Regions from separate parts of the Homo sapiens genome. Here all the other regions are linked to region 2. The links are contacts of gene promoters, found by promoter capture Hi-C in blood cells and fetal thymus (Javierre and others, 2016). All regions are on one chromosome and are shown on one strand. Each heading gives the region's core, a stretch centred on a gene start or on the middle of the fragment in contact. The rest is flanking DNA. Distances are from core to core; before and after follow the strand shown. Region 1 overlaps DIS3 (DIS3 exosome endoribonuclease and 3''-5'' exoribonuclease). Region 2 holds the start of MYCBP2 (MYC binding protein 2). Region 3 overlaps BORA (BORA aurora kinase A activator).

Region 1 (4,074 bases), core at 1,066-3,565, 4.5 Mb before region 2:
CCTTCATCATGTAAAACCACAGAAGATGGTGCTACCCACTGACTCTTGGGGAGAAGCTCCACAGCCACAATATCTTCGTGAACAGCTCTGTTTAAATGTTTAAGTCCCTGTAAGATTATCTGTTTAAAACAACAGAGGGCACGTGCCCAAATTATTTTTAATGGCAATATAATAAAGGGAAGATCATCTAACAGATATTTACATACACTCTGAATATCTCTATGGAATCTCTATTTCTCCTTTATAGATTTTCTTTCTCTATTGTGTCCCTAATTCCACAACTTTAATTTCTCAATACCAGGTAGAAAAAATGTAAGTCAGAAAACACAGGCTGTGTTCATGGCTCCATCATAACTTACACTGGTAACAAGAGACTTTGGAAAAATTATTTATGCTCTCTAAATCTCAAGTCCTGATTGGTCAAATAAGAGTACACTACCTAGTTTTTATAGGTTGGGTTGAATATTAAATGAAATGCCATGCGCAAAGATTTAAAAAACTACCTGACAAATTGTGAGCACTGCAAAAAAAAAAAGAAAAAAGTTACTATTTGCTTTAAAGTATGTGAAGCCTCATATGTTACACAAATAGTATTTACCATTAAGTGTTCATAATATATAAAATATCATCTTTATTTTAGTGTATAAGGAATTTATTTATATACTTGCCTCTTTATTTTCTTCATTGTCGCCATGAATCCATACTGTAGCTTCCAAGTAATTTTCCCTGCTAGCTCTAAATGTTCCTTGAAGGTATGTACCAGATTTTATGCCTTGCTGTAGCTTACTTAAGGGAAGATGCTCTGAAAATATTATTTTTCCACTTTCTATTTCATTCTATGAAAGAAGCAAACCAAAAGATGCCGCTAATAAGTCTTCTGTTCACTCAATACACAACTATTATTAATATCAGAGAATTTTTGAAATCTACATTATGATATACACAACTCTGAATAGGAGAGAAGATAGCAGTGTTTCTTATAGGCCAGTGCTAACAAAAACAGCTTTCTATGATGAAGGAAGTATTCATTTTGCGATCTCTAATATGGTAGCCACTAGACACAAGTTTCTCTTGGGCACTTGAAAGACAGATAGTACCACCAAGAAACTGAATTTTTAATACATATTAAATTTAAATAGTCATATATAACTAAGTGGCTACATATTAGGGCAATACTAAATCTGTATTTCAAAAATCAAACCCAACTTTTATCTTCTCATTTCCTTTTGGTTTCATAAAGTATCATAAAGGTAAGAAGGGATGACAGAAGTGTAAAGACTGGATTTATGTATAATGTCCTATCACTTAAAACCTATTTCTATAACAAGGGCTACCATTTATATTTACCATACCTATGTGCCAGGCACTAGGATGAAAATTGTATTAATGCTACAGTTATCATCTTATTTGATCCTTATAACAACACTATGAAGTTATTATTGCTAAACATTATATATTTATATATAAGAAAATGAATGCTCAGAATTTAATTATTCCCTTAGCACTCCTTCTCACATCAGCTATTGTAATGACTCCTTTACTCACCTCTCTGCCTCTAATCTTTCCTGGATAAAATGCTTAATGTTACACACTGACATGAGAGTGGTCTTACAAACAAATACCATTTCCAATCATTCTCTCCTGCTCCACCAATCCACATTCATATACCATTACTTTTTCTTAGCCTGACATATAAGGAAGGGATCTCAGAATCCTTTCCTCTTCATAGCAGCCCTTCAGGGAGATCTTTATAAATCAATTGAAAAATTACTAACCTACAGAATAAGTTCTAGGTCTTTACTATCTGGACACTCCCCTCCCTCTTCTTTCCTCTGTCTGCAGTGCCTGCCACTTCATTTGTCAGCAGCTACTCTTTATTCACAAATCAGCCATGGACTCCGTTCATTTTTTCCTCAACCAAACAGTGCTACCAGGTACCAGGCCCTACTCAGGTTAATGGGAATATATCTATTTTAGAAAGTTAACTCCTTTAGGAATGGCATTTCAATAAGCCTATGACATCCACTCCTGTTTATAACACAACTATTCCAAATCCAGCTTACCCACCGACATTCCAATTTTTAAATTTGGTAACTATATGCCTAATATTCCAAAGTGGCTATTTTAATATTTTTACTTTTCAAAAACAAAACAAAAACATACCCCTTCTTCAGACAAACAAGCAAGACGATCTATGAGTTCGGGGTTAGCAGTTAGGCTCTTTACATATTCTTCACCTGAAAAAATAAGTTTATGTTGTTTTTGATAAGTGTTTTTTCCTTAGATATGAAAAAAATGGATAGTCTTGTTTGCGACAGTATACACGTCATTCTTTCATTCATTGAGACACACTGAGAGTCTCACTCTGTCTCTCAGGCTGGAGTGCAGCGGCGCAATTACACATCACTACAGCCTAGAATCCCTGGGCTCAAGCTACCTTCCTGCCTTAGCCTCCCGAGTAGCTGGGACTATAGTTACATACTACCATGCACGGCTTTTTTTTTTTTTCCTGTAGAGCTATAGTCTCCCTATGTTGCCCAGGCTGGTCCTGAACTCCTGGTCTCAAGCAAGCCTCTTGCCCTGACCTCCCAAAGTGCTGGGATTACAGCACCTGGCCTCAATTTATTTAAAAAACAAAACCCAAAAATCTGTTGATGTGATCATACCTAAGCAGAAGCAGGGGTTCCAGTATATTTATGAGATTTCATTGCTAAACCAGTTGCAAATAGTGAGGGGAAAATTAACAGCCACTGGGCACAACATATTTAGGTTAAAAACTATGTGAAATTTAAAAATACAAAAATATCACATGAAGTTATATAGGACTACGAAAATACTAAATAGTAAAGTGAACATCTGACTATAGGCCTAATGATTATTTTTACACGCATTTGCAAACATGCACTAAGTACTTCTACATTTAGACTTACAAGTGAAAGCTGGTATTCCTTCTTCTATGGCTTTCTCTTTGTTTCTCCTGTCATTTGTTATGAAGATAACTTGCAGCTGGTTGTCTGCTGACATTTTTTTCAAATGTTCATTGTACCATTTTGCTGCTACTCGAATCGCTCTATCATTCCTGTCATTAGCATTTTCTCCCTGTTCTTGTTCTACATAGGTTTCTCTAAATGGAAAGAAAAAACGAAATAAAAGGAAATCAGTAGAAACAAGGATATGTGAAAACTCTTAGCACATAAATGCTTAACCACTAAACTAGAAAAAGTCAATGGTATATCTTTTCTCTTGAATGTATTCAGATGTACACCTCAGAGAAGAAATCAAGATTCTTATAATTAAGTTTTTAAGAAACAATTTGCTTGGAAAAGAAGAAAATTATGTTATTAAGGGGACAAGAAAAAGGCTAATACAATTTTATTTCCTAAAAAGAAAAATTCAAGATCAGAATTTATACTTTAGGTTGAGACACTAAATAATAGTTTGTTGACAAATTATAATACAATTTCACAGGTATGATAATCAGATTTCATTCAAACTGTAGGTTAATAGCAATTCCTAAAAGCTACAAATAGTATAATTAGATCATTTATAATCAGAATTCTACAGTCATTAATAAATAATGCATATAAATTATCCATGGTAAACACTAATAGCTGAAGCTATGTAGAGACTGAAAAGTCAGGTATATTAATAGATATTACGTATTTCTTCTATCTAAACTCCCAAGTATGTCAACACATTCATCTATTTCTTTAAATCTGTTCATCAAAGCCAGGTTTAAGTACAACAGCAAAGTTCACTACAATAGCTTCCAGTACTTAATGGTAATAGATTCAATTTAATAATTTGATTTATATTAATAGTTTTAGAATTATTTTATTCCTCATCGTTGAATGCACTTGCTAATGCTTTTTTTTTTTTTTTGAAACAGAGTCTTGCTCTGTAGCTCAGGCTGGAGTGCAGTGGCATGATCTCAGCTTACTGCAACCTCTACCTCCGGGTTCAAGTGATCCTCCCAACTCAGCCTCGCAAGTAGCTGGGACTAGAGGCATGTACCACCATAACCAGCTAATTTTTGTATTTTTAAGAGACAGGGATTTTCCAGGTTGGCTAAGC
Region 2 (4,411 bases), core at 1,098-3,597:
TATAGTTCTAGATACACAGAAATCATATTACACTAGTAGTAGGAAGTCAAAACAGGAATATACAAGTCAAAAATTATTGCATAAGTCTGGAAACCATACACAAAATAAATTTAAATTCTTTGAGAGGAGTTTGTAAAGATGTTCCTGCGGTGCCATAATTTAGAGATTTACAGATCAAAATTATACCTAATTATCAGGGCAAACTGTCTCACGTAGTTTTGTGCTATTTTCAAAAGCATTAGCAAGAAACAGACTTGTGCCATTCTGGCCTTCAGTTCAGATAGCAAAAAATAGTTACACACGTTTACATCCATATGGTAAAACTACTGCTGTGCCCAATCCTGTAAACAATCACAGACATGAGAAAACTGGTTAACCTAGAAAAAGTGTGAACAAAGCTCCAGCTTTACAACTGTCTCCAACAGATAAGCCATGATACCTAGTGATAAGCTACAAATACCTGACTTACAGCCTCGTCCCTTTCATAATGGGAGAAAAAGACACCTAACAATTGCCTAATAAATTGCACATTCAATAAATAACAGTAAACTCTTTAACTCATTTTGACAGTTTCCTACTATGTTTTCCCCATGTACTGCAAGAAGCTGTGGGAAAAAAAAGATGAAGCCAACTCCCAATTACCACTGTCAAAGCTGGTGAAACAAGTCAGTCACCAACCTTCAGGGTATGCGGCATGTAAGGGCATGGAAAAGAAAACAATAGGAGAGCCCTCAGCAAAAAAAAGCACCCACATTTTAAGAAAAAGAAAATGAAACCAACTGAACATCTACATCAAGGAAGCTGAAGGTGTAGCCAACCCAAGTAAAAGAGACAAATCTACGCGCTATTCAGATTTTCTAGCTAGTGGCAGTTGAACGCTGTACCAGCTGTCATATTCTGAAGTTCTGCAGTTTTCCCCTTTTCCCTACAAAACCCTCTCTACTCTAAAGCCTGTAAGTAACAGAGGAAATCGAACAGAGGATGAAGAGAAATGGCCGATGGGACATCAGATCACAAGAGTAACTGCAACCTCATTTCTAGAAGACCAAAAGGCCCGGTTATCAAAGTACAGCTCTAAAAATCTCTATCAGACACCTTTCGCATCCACACAGATCTCCATCTGCGTCCCTTATTCATAAATCTTTTTAAAGCAAACCTCACGCCTATCCCTCGGGCCTGCTTATCCAAAACTCAACCAATCTATACCATGACTCCTCTTGGTGAAAGGCAGATTGAAGGGAGGTGGAAAGGGCTGGAAGGAATGTCATGGGAGAGGCGGCACGTGCAAATAACATTGCGGCAGAGACACTGAAAACGCCACTTCCCTTGCCACTGTTGCAATTCTCTTCGTGTATCATCCTCTTACCCTCTCTACCCATGCCACCTCCTACCTCAACGATACACACACGTGTCACAGCCGACCAGCACCATCGCCTTTTCCAGCATCACAGGTTCCCCTACCACCCCTCACTATCCCCCCACATAGGCAGGCAGACACACACACACACACACACACACACACACACACACACACACACGAGAAACTGCAGCCACCGCACCCTCCTATCTCGATAAGTGCTCCTGCCAACAGACATCCAGAGCGGACTGAAAGCTCAATAAATGCGCAGGTACACACACGCAAGCACACACACACGCGGGTGCACGCGCGGCATGGGGCGCAAGGAAGGGCGGCATGGGGCGCAAGGAAGGGCACCCTGGGGACGCACCTGGAGGCTGGGTGTCCAGCGCTGCCGCCCCCCTGGTCCCTGTCATTGAGCGCAGCGGTATAAATCCTCCGGTAGCGGTCGGCCAGGGCCCGGCCTGACAGCAGCAGCTGGTAGTGACCCCGGGAGTCCGCGGCGGGTAGCCCCAGCCCCAGCCCCGCAGCAGCCACGGAGCCGTCGGGAACCGGCATGAACAGCGCCCCCGGCGCCGGGGAGGAAGAGAAGGTGGCGGCTGGGTAGAATCCGTCCCCGCCGAGCCCCGAGGAGGCGGCGGCGGGGGAGGCAGTCGCTGCGCACATCATCATCCTCGCCGCCGCCGCCGCCGCCGCCGCCTCGTCCCCGCGGGCCGGGCGGGCAGACACGCGCGCGCACACACAGCCCTTTTCCAACGACGACGGCTCCGGCGGCGGCCTCTGGCTCCCGCAGCAGGGAGACTACAAAGACAGCGACCTCCTTCTCCTCCTCCTTCTTCTCCTCCTCCCCCCCGCGCCGCCCTCGCCGCTACTGGGGCCGCTCATCTAACCCCGCCACCCCGGGAATGTGAGGAGGAGGCGGTGCCGCCACTGCCGCCGCCACCACCGCTACCACCGCCACCACCGCCGGGGCTACCCGCAATGGGAAGCTGCCGGCCTCACAGAGCATGCGCCACTCCTCGCACATGCTCAGTAACTGCCGCCCCTTTTCCTCCCCACCCCCTCTCCGCCACCACTCCCTCCGCCTCGGGGCTTTGGGTTTGGGGCTGTTGGGTTGTGCGGAATCTGAAGTAGTCCACTTCTCCGGGTTTTACTGGCAGCTTGAAGAAGAGTAAGGAAAGTGCTGGGGAGGCTGTCAGCTACTGACGTTCGACTTCAGGTTCCCTCCAGGTGGAAGAACGAGGACCAGAAAGCAAGGGGGAACGTGCCCATCGCCAGAGGAGGAGTGGCACGCTCTTCTGCTACCTCTTCTCCAAGGCTCTGCTGCCAACAGGAAGATTTACTGTGAATTGTGCTGGTTAATTCAGAGTTTAAGGCAGAGAAAACCATCCCAATTAGAAGTGCCTTTAGCGATCTTATTTTATATGGTTTTTGTCATTAGGATTTACGCTTGTTTAACACAGCTTTTACTTACAAAGACAGGTAGTAATCTAGCACATTCTTTTTTGTGTGTGAAAGTATTTTGTGTGTGAAAGTATAACAGATAGGCTAGTATTCACAAGCCAGAGTCATTCCCAAATTCTTGTTCTCAACGGAGCAATAATATTTTTTAAATTACTCTTTTTTATTGACTCCTCACTCACCTAAGAGTGCACTTTTATCTCTTGGCAGTGGTCATTTAATGGTTTATTTTTTTCTGCCCAAACTTACATTTTTAAAGATAATTCTTGAATGCGATCTGAAACAATAATTGTGACGGAGACTGTATAGCGTCTGAAAATGTCAGATCCATCACATATCTTGTTGTTGTCTATAAAAAAGTAACATTTGCTCAGTCCTTTGTTCCAAGCTAACCTACGAACCCCATCTAAGTATATGCTCTAGAAATATACGTGCCAATGCACTTTGATTCCTACTACGTTTTATCCTTTGACTCTCAATTTGAAGAGTTTCCTAATTTACAGTCCTGACAAAATAATTTATAAGTTCTGTCATCCCAGTACTGTATCTTTCATCTATGTACTAGTTCTTATATCTGTGCCTCTTCTTCGGATGGCCTTCTCTTAAAAAAAAATAAAATAAATGTTAAAAAATCCTCCTTAGTGTTTGAGAAGTGCAAACAACAAGGAATAGGAAAGTAAATTAATTCTAGTTTTAGGGTGGAAGGTTGCTGAAAGCAATGCATTTTTTTCTGAAGCTTTAAATAATGGATGGATTTCATTTAGTTTTTTTAAAGATAATTAGCAGTGGGATAAACATAGGAACAAAGGACAAGACATGTGGAATCATAGTATTTTAGTACTGTAATTAGCCCTGTTAAGTTTTTGTATTTGTCTTGTTTCCTTACCTAAGTTCCTTCAGAGCTTGCTGCTTTTGTGTCTCCTTCAGCCACTTCAGGACTTTGCATGTAGTAGGTATCCAGTAAGTATTTATTAGACTAAATTTCTATCCTAATGCTTCAGCACAGTTAAAGACCTCAGTGTTGACCAGGCAGCCCCTAACCCTGGAGTGAGAACCAAGACAATGGTGTAGAGGCAGCTAAATTCTAAGAATTCTAAGGCCTGACAGGTAAGCAATGAGAGGGCCCATTACTATTGCAAGACCTAGCAGGGTAGCTAAAAGGCTCTGAAATCAGACAGCCCTGGAATTGGATCCTGACTCTGCTACTTAATACTTGTCTGGCTTTGGGCAAATTATCTCCTCTGAATAATGCTCAAAAGAATACCCACTACATGAGATTGAGGGAGGACTTAAAGGATCTAGGATGTCCAACTTGGCACATGAATTTTCACAAATGGTAGCACATACTAAACAAAACACTAGGTTTTCCGTAGGGTAGCAATGGTGTCTGTTCAACCATCACAGGCTCCTAGCACAGGGTCTAGCCCTGAACAGGAGGGAAATAGATGTTGGCTGAATGAATGAATGTTGCTTGCACAGAAAACATTTACAGCGCAGGCTCAGGTGGTGGAATGTGCAGTCACTGCCCATTTAGAGTTTCTAGTGGACATTGACCCGCGTGGCTGCCCTGGTCTCCGGGCTCTTCCCACCATT
Region 3 (4,301 bases), core at 1,255-3,754, 4.6 Mb before region 2:
TCACATAGGTTAGCATTTTGATGAACTATTTTAGTTTGCCTTTACTCATAAGCTCACTTTCTTTTGTTAAGACTCCAGGGAAATTTAGATGGTCTATTGATCAACTAGCTGTAATAAATCCTGTAGAAATAGACCCAGAAGATATTCATCGTCAAGCTTTATACTTAAGTCATTCTCGGTAAGTTTTCCTTTCTTGCACCTAAGTCTAATAACACTCTCAAGTGAAGAGAGGTAGGAAATTCTAAATGTTGAGTATTTTTCTATGTAAAGGTATCAGGGAGAAAAAATTTTGATGCAGATTTTTTCTATCTAAATGAATGAGTTCAAAGAACTACATTCAGAAAGATTTTCTTGCCAACAGTTCCAGACCTGAGTAGATACCTTTTTCTTTTACAAGTAACCTTTTCCCTCTGCTACTGAGGTGACAGCTCTGTACCCCTAGCACTCAGTTAAGAGAAGAACATTTTGAAATTTGCACTTTTCTACATGGTTGTGGCTTCTGCCATTAACTTGTTTCAGTTTGTCTTTTTGATGATTTGGGGTAAAGCAAAATGCTGTTTCATTGTTATCTATGTTTGGGGAAACCTAAAACCCCCTCAAAGAGTTACGTATGCACTGAATGGAAGGGTATCCATTAGCAACAGAGCGGTTTTTTAGACATCATCCAACTGTAACAATTCACTTGGAATCTGAATTACATTTTCTAGAATTCTACATATCACCCAGTGCAGTCTTATTTGTTGATGTGTTGTTTAGGTTTCAAGGCACTAATGTACTGCAGATTTAGTTTTTTATTACAAAGTGTAAGGTCCTATTATTCTTTTGTAGTTTTAGGGACTCTTGTTTATATGTTTTATAGTCTGATTTTTTAATATTTGAAAAAAATCAAATACATGGTATGACCAGATTTTAATTTGCTGTCCTAAGGTAGACATGTTGTTAGTCCAAAACAAAGGATAATCCTTTTCCCTTTGACTTAAGAATTCAGTCACACAACGTTGCACACATATTGAGATATTCTGGTAAATACTTACTGGCTTTTCTCCTCCATCTTCTCTTTGCTTGGTAACATGATGACCATTCAATCATAAAATTAATGTCCACCCAGAGTGTTAATAGGAAGGGAATAGAATGAGGATGAAGCATGAAAGGATTTTAACTTAAATTTAAATAATACCTTTGAGGCCAGGTGTGGTGGCTCACACCTGTAATCCCAGCATTTTGGGAGGCTGAGGCGGGCAGATCACTTGAGGTCATGAGTTCAAGACCAGGCTGGCCAACATAGTGAAACCCCATCTCTACTAAACATACAAAAACATTAGCCGGGCATGGTGGTGCACACCTGTAATCCCAGCTACTCGGGAGGCCGAGACAGGAGAATCGCTTGAACCCAGGAGGCAAAGGTTGCAGTGAGCTGAGATCATGCCATTGCACTCTAGCCTGGGGGACAGAGCAAGACTCCATCTCAAAAAAATAAAATAAATAAATAAGTAAATAAATAATACCTTTGAAAGAGAAGGTGAGATGAATATCTAAAAGCAAATGAGTCACAGTGACTAATTTTTTGTTTCACACGAACTTAATTATGCTTAATTATTTTGTCTCATTTCTTCAATATATTGAATGATGGACAATTATTATATTGATCAGTCAAGAGATACTTATTGAGTACTGTGAGGGACTGTAAGAAACACTGAAGAAGTACAAGATACTAAGAGTCAAGAGTCAAAAATATAATTAGACCAAAGTTGTAACACAGTGCTTCTGTTCTTACTACTAAATGATATATTGTCTGCAAAGGTTTATAAAGATAATCTTGGTGTCTCTTAGTACATAGATTTATCATATAGAAGAATGGAAAAGAGTGGGAAAATATTATAATTTAATTTAATAATATAATTCAATGAATGGTTATGGCTTCTACCAAGGATAGTCAATATATTCTTCACAGAGCATCTCGTTTCATCCTTAGAAACAAGCAGTGTCTTTCAGTATCTCTTCTTACATATTAGCCCTCTACTTCAATTCTTCCCATCCTTTTCATGCCACCATCCACACAGAAAATTGTAACTGAAAAGCATACCAGTGTAAGCAGGTGAGTCTTGGCCATGTAGGTGACCAGTCCTGAGGTCCCCTCTCCTTTGCCACCCTGCAAAGGCTCAACATTCAGGCCACACCTATACCTATATGCATCATACTGGTGTTCAGTGGTATGCTGGTCAGGATGCTCTCCCCTGTATGACTTCTTAGAATCTTGTTTGATCTGACTCTAGAGTATTTGGCCACAGTGATTTTTACAGTTTCCAGCAATCACCTGAGTATTTCATGTTCTTGAAGTCCCTCTGATGAAGTAGCAAAAGGTTTCTGAATGCAGTAATCCTAGTTCAGAGCTTACTTGCTATTTGCTAAGCTTGTTATGTGCTGCCATTTTGACCATGATAAGATGAAGAGAACCATTGATAAGATGAAGGCCATTTTGTTATCCTCAAAATGGCTACTGTTCAAGCTGGGATATGTGGGTTGACACTGTAGTTTATTTTCTCATACTTCTCCCACTTGAAAAATCTACTTAATTTCTGAAATGTATACATTCTCATATAAGCTTTATTAAGCCATGAGCAAGTCTATATGTGAAAAAAATTCACACCATGGAATACTATGCAGCCACAAAAAGCATGAGATCGCGTCCTTTGCATGGACATGGATGCAGCTGGAGGCCATTATTCTTAGCAAACTAATACAGGAACAGAAAACCAAACCCCTCATGTTCTCACTTATAAGTGGGAGCTAAATGATGAGAGCATGTGGACATATAGAGGGGAACAGCACACACTGGGGCCTGGTGGAGGGTGAGAGGAGGGAGATCAGGAAAAATAACTGATGGATTCTAGACTTAATACCTGGATGATTAAATAATCTGTACAACAAACCCCAGTGACACAAGTTACCTGTGTAACCTGCATTTGTACCCCTGAACTTAAAATAAAAGTTAAAGAAAAAATTCTGAGACAAAATAATTTTAAATTGTAAAAAAAAATATGTCTTACCAATTTACTGATGGAAGGCAAGGATTCTTTCCTGTAATGGAATAAAGAAGTGGTCCTAGAAAGCTAACTGCTGAGTCCTTGGCAAGTATATGCTTTGTGCTTGGACCCAAAATTTTATATTAAATCTTGTAGCTGAGAAGTTTATATAACAGTAATTGCAGATTGTATCAAAGTGAAAAAAAAATTCATTTGGAAAAAATGTTATATTGTCAGTGTTTTATTTCAGAGTTAATATTTTTGACTGTTTAGAACTGTGAACTATCCTCATCTATTTTACAGTAAAAGTTGATTCTAAAATTATTGCCATGATAAACTTGTTATAATTGAAGAGAAAAACTTTGGACAATTTTTAGATGTATGTTGAATTAAATACTTCTTAATTTGTATTAAGGGACAAAGTTTATCAAATTTATATTGTTAAAAGCAATTTAATATCAATGTAAGTCTTTTGAAATAAAGTATCATTGCATTCAAACTTTGAATGGAAAAGAGGGAGGTAAGCCTAACAGCTAACTGCTGAATTTCAGAATACTGCCTAAATGTTACTAAATGTTACAAGATACCACTAGTATTAATTATAAAGTGAGCTTAACATTTGCCAGTTTTCAATGAAGGGAGATTATTTATTTGAAAGGTTATTTTTTAAAATGTTCAATAAGCTTAAGTAATAGCATGGTTATTTTTCTTCTTTATCTTTGTATAGAATAGATAAAGATGTGGAAGACAAAAGACAAAAAGCCATTGAAGAGGTAACTTAAACTGTTACTGATCATTAAATCAGTTAAGGATCAATTCTGCATGTACATCACTTCTTTTAGGAAGACTTTCTTCAATTCCTTCACTGTCCTATCTCCCCTCCAAGCCCTTCACAGTCCCATCTATATAAAGCACCCTTCTGTACTGTCCTAAGACCAATAATTTCCAGCTATCCCAGTACCTTGCATAGCACTTGCATACTGTTGTAATGATCAGTTTAGTGTTTCTGTCCCCTAGACGCAATCTTTTTTGGCCAATACTGTACTTCATCCTTTCATTCTCAGGACCTAGCACAATTTGTCTTCCTTGTGCCTTCAAAATGTTGATTAGCACAAACTTTGTTTCAAGTTGGAGTTTATGTAGAGGAAGTCGAATATTCTCAGGCCTTCAGAGTCTAGATTGGCATTGGGAATGGCTTTGTCTTTTTTTGTTAATACTTTGGATTTTTAAGATATTCATGAAATAAAATCTCTTACTGTTAAACAGGAAAGGTATATC

Evidence for each region. Contacts are between HindIII fragments. The CHiCAGO score rates a contact against its expected background, and 5 or more counts as called.
Region 1: a contact is called between a fragment that was not itself captured here and the fragment with the promoter of MYCBP2 in region 2, in 1 of 17 cell types (naive CD8 T cells). The highest score is 8.6, in naive CD8 T cells.
Region 3: a fragment that was not itself captured here is called in contact with the fragment with the promoter of MYCBP2 in region 2 in 2 of 17 cell types (non-activated CD4 T cells and total CD4 T cells); the score reaches 8.4 in non-activated CD4 T cells.

The regions. Positions count from the first base shown.
Region 1 is chr13:72,775,257-72,779,330 of GRCh38, forward strand. It overlaps DIS3 (DIS3 exosome endoribonuclease and 3''-5'' exoribonuclease), which reads right to left. Exons shown (of 21, transcript NM_014953.5): 3 at 2,931-3,124; 4 at 2,164-2,237; 5 at 669-836; 6 at 1-119. Among named protein-coding and RNA genes, the nearest start is that of DIS3, 4.6 kb to the right of the region's middle. The HindIII fragment of the contact is 7,790 bases long and covers 1-4,074 here.
Region 2 is chr13:77,324,747-77,329,157 of GRCh38, forward strand. MYCBP2 (MYC binding protein 2) reads right to left here and starts at 2,348. Exons shown (of 83, transcript NM_015057.5): 1 at 1,728-2,348. The coding sequence starts at 2,029. It overlaps LOC127898562, which reads right to left and starts at 2,242. Exons shown (of 1, transcript NM_001414702.1): 1 at 2,159-2,242. The coding sequence starts at 2,242. The coding sequence ends at 2,159. It overlaps LOC107984564 (a long non-coding RNA gene), which reads left to right and starts at 2,299. Exons shown (of 2, transcript XR_001749930.2): 1 at 2,299-2,389; 2 at 2,518-3,452. RefSeq lists enhancers at 648-827, 2,498-2,827 and silencers at 1,768-1,887, 1,928-2,307. The HindIII fragment of the contact is 13,146 bases long and covers 1-3,552 here.
Region 3 is chr13:72,731,210-72,735,510 of GRCh38, forward strand. BORA (BORA aurora kinase A activator) reads left to right here. Exons shown (of 12, transcript NM_024808.5): 3 at 72-178; 4 at 3,751-3,796. Among named protein-coding and RNA genes, the nearest start is that of BORA, 5.4 kb to the left of the region's middle. The HindIII fragment of the contact is 192 bases long and covers 2,409-2,600 here.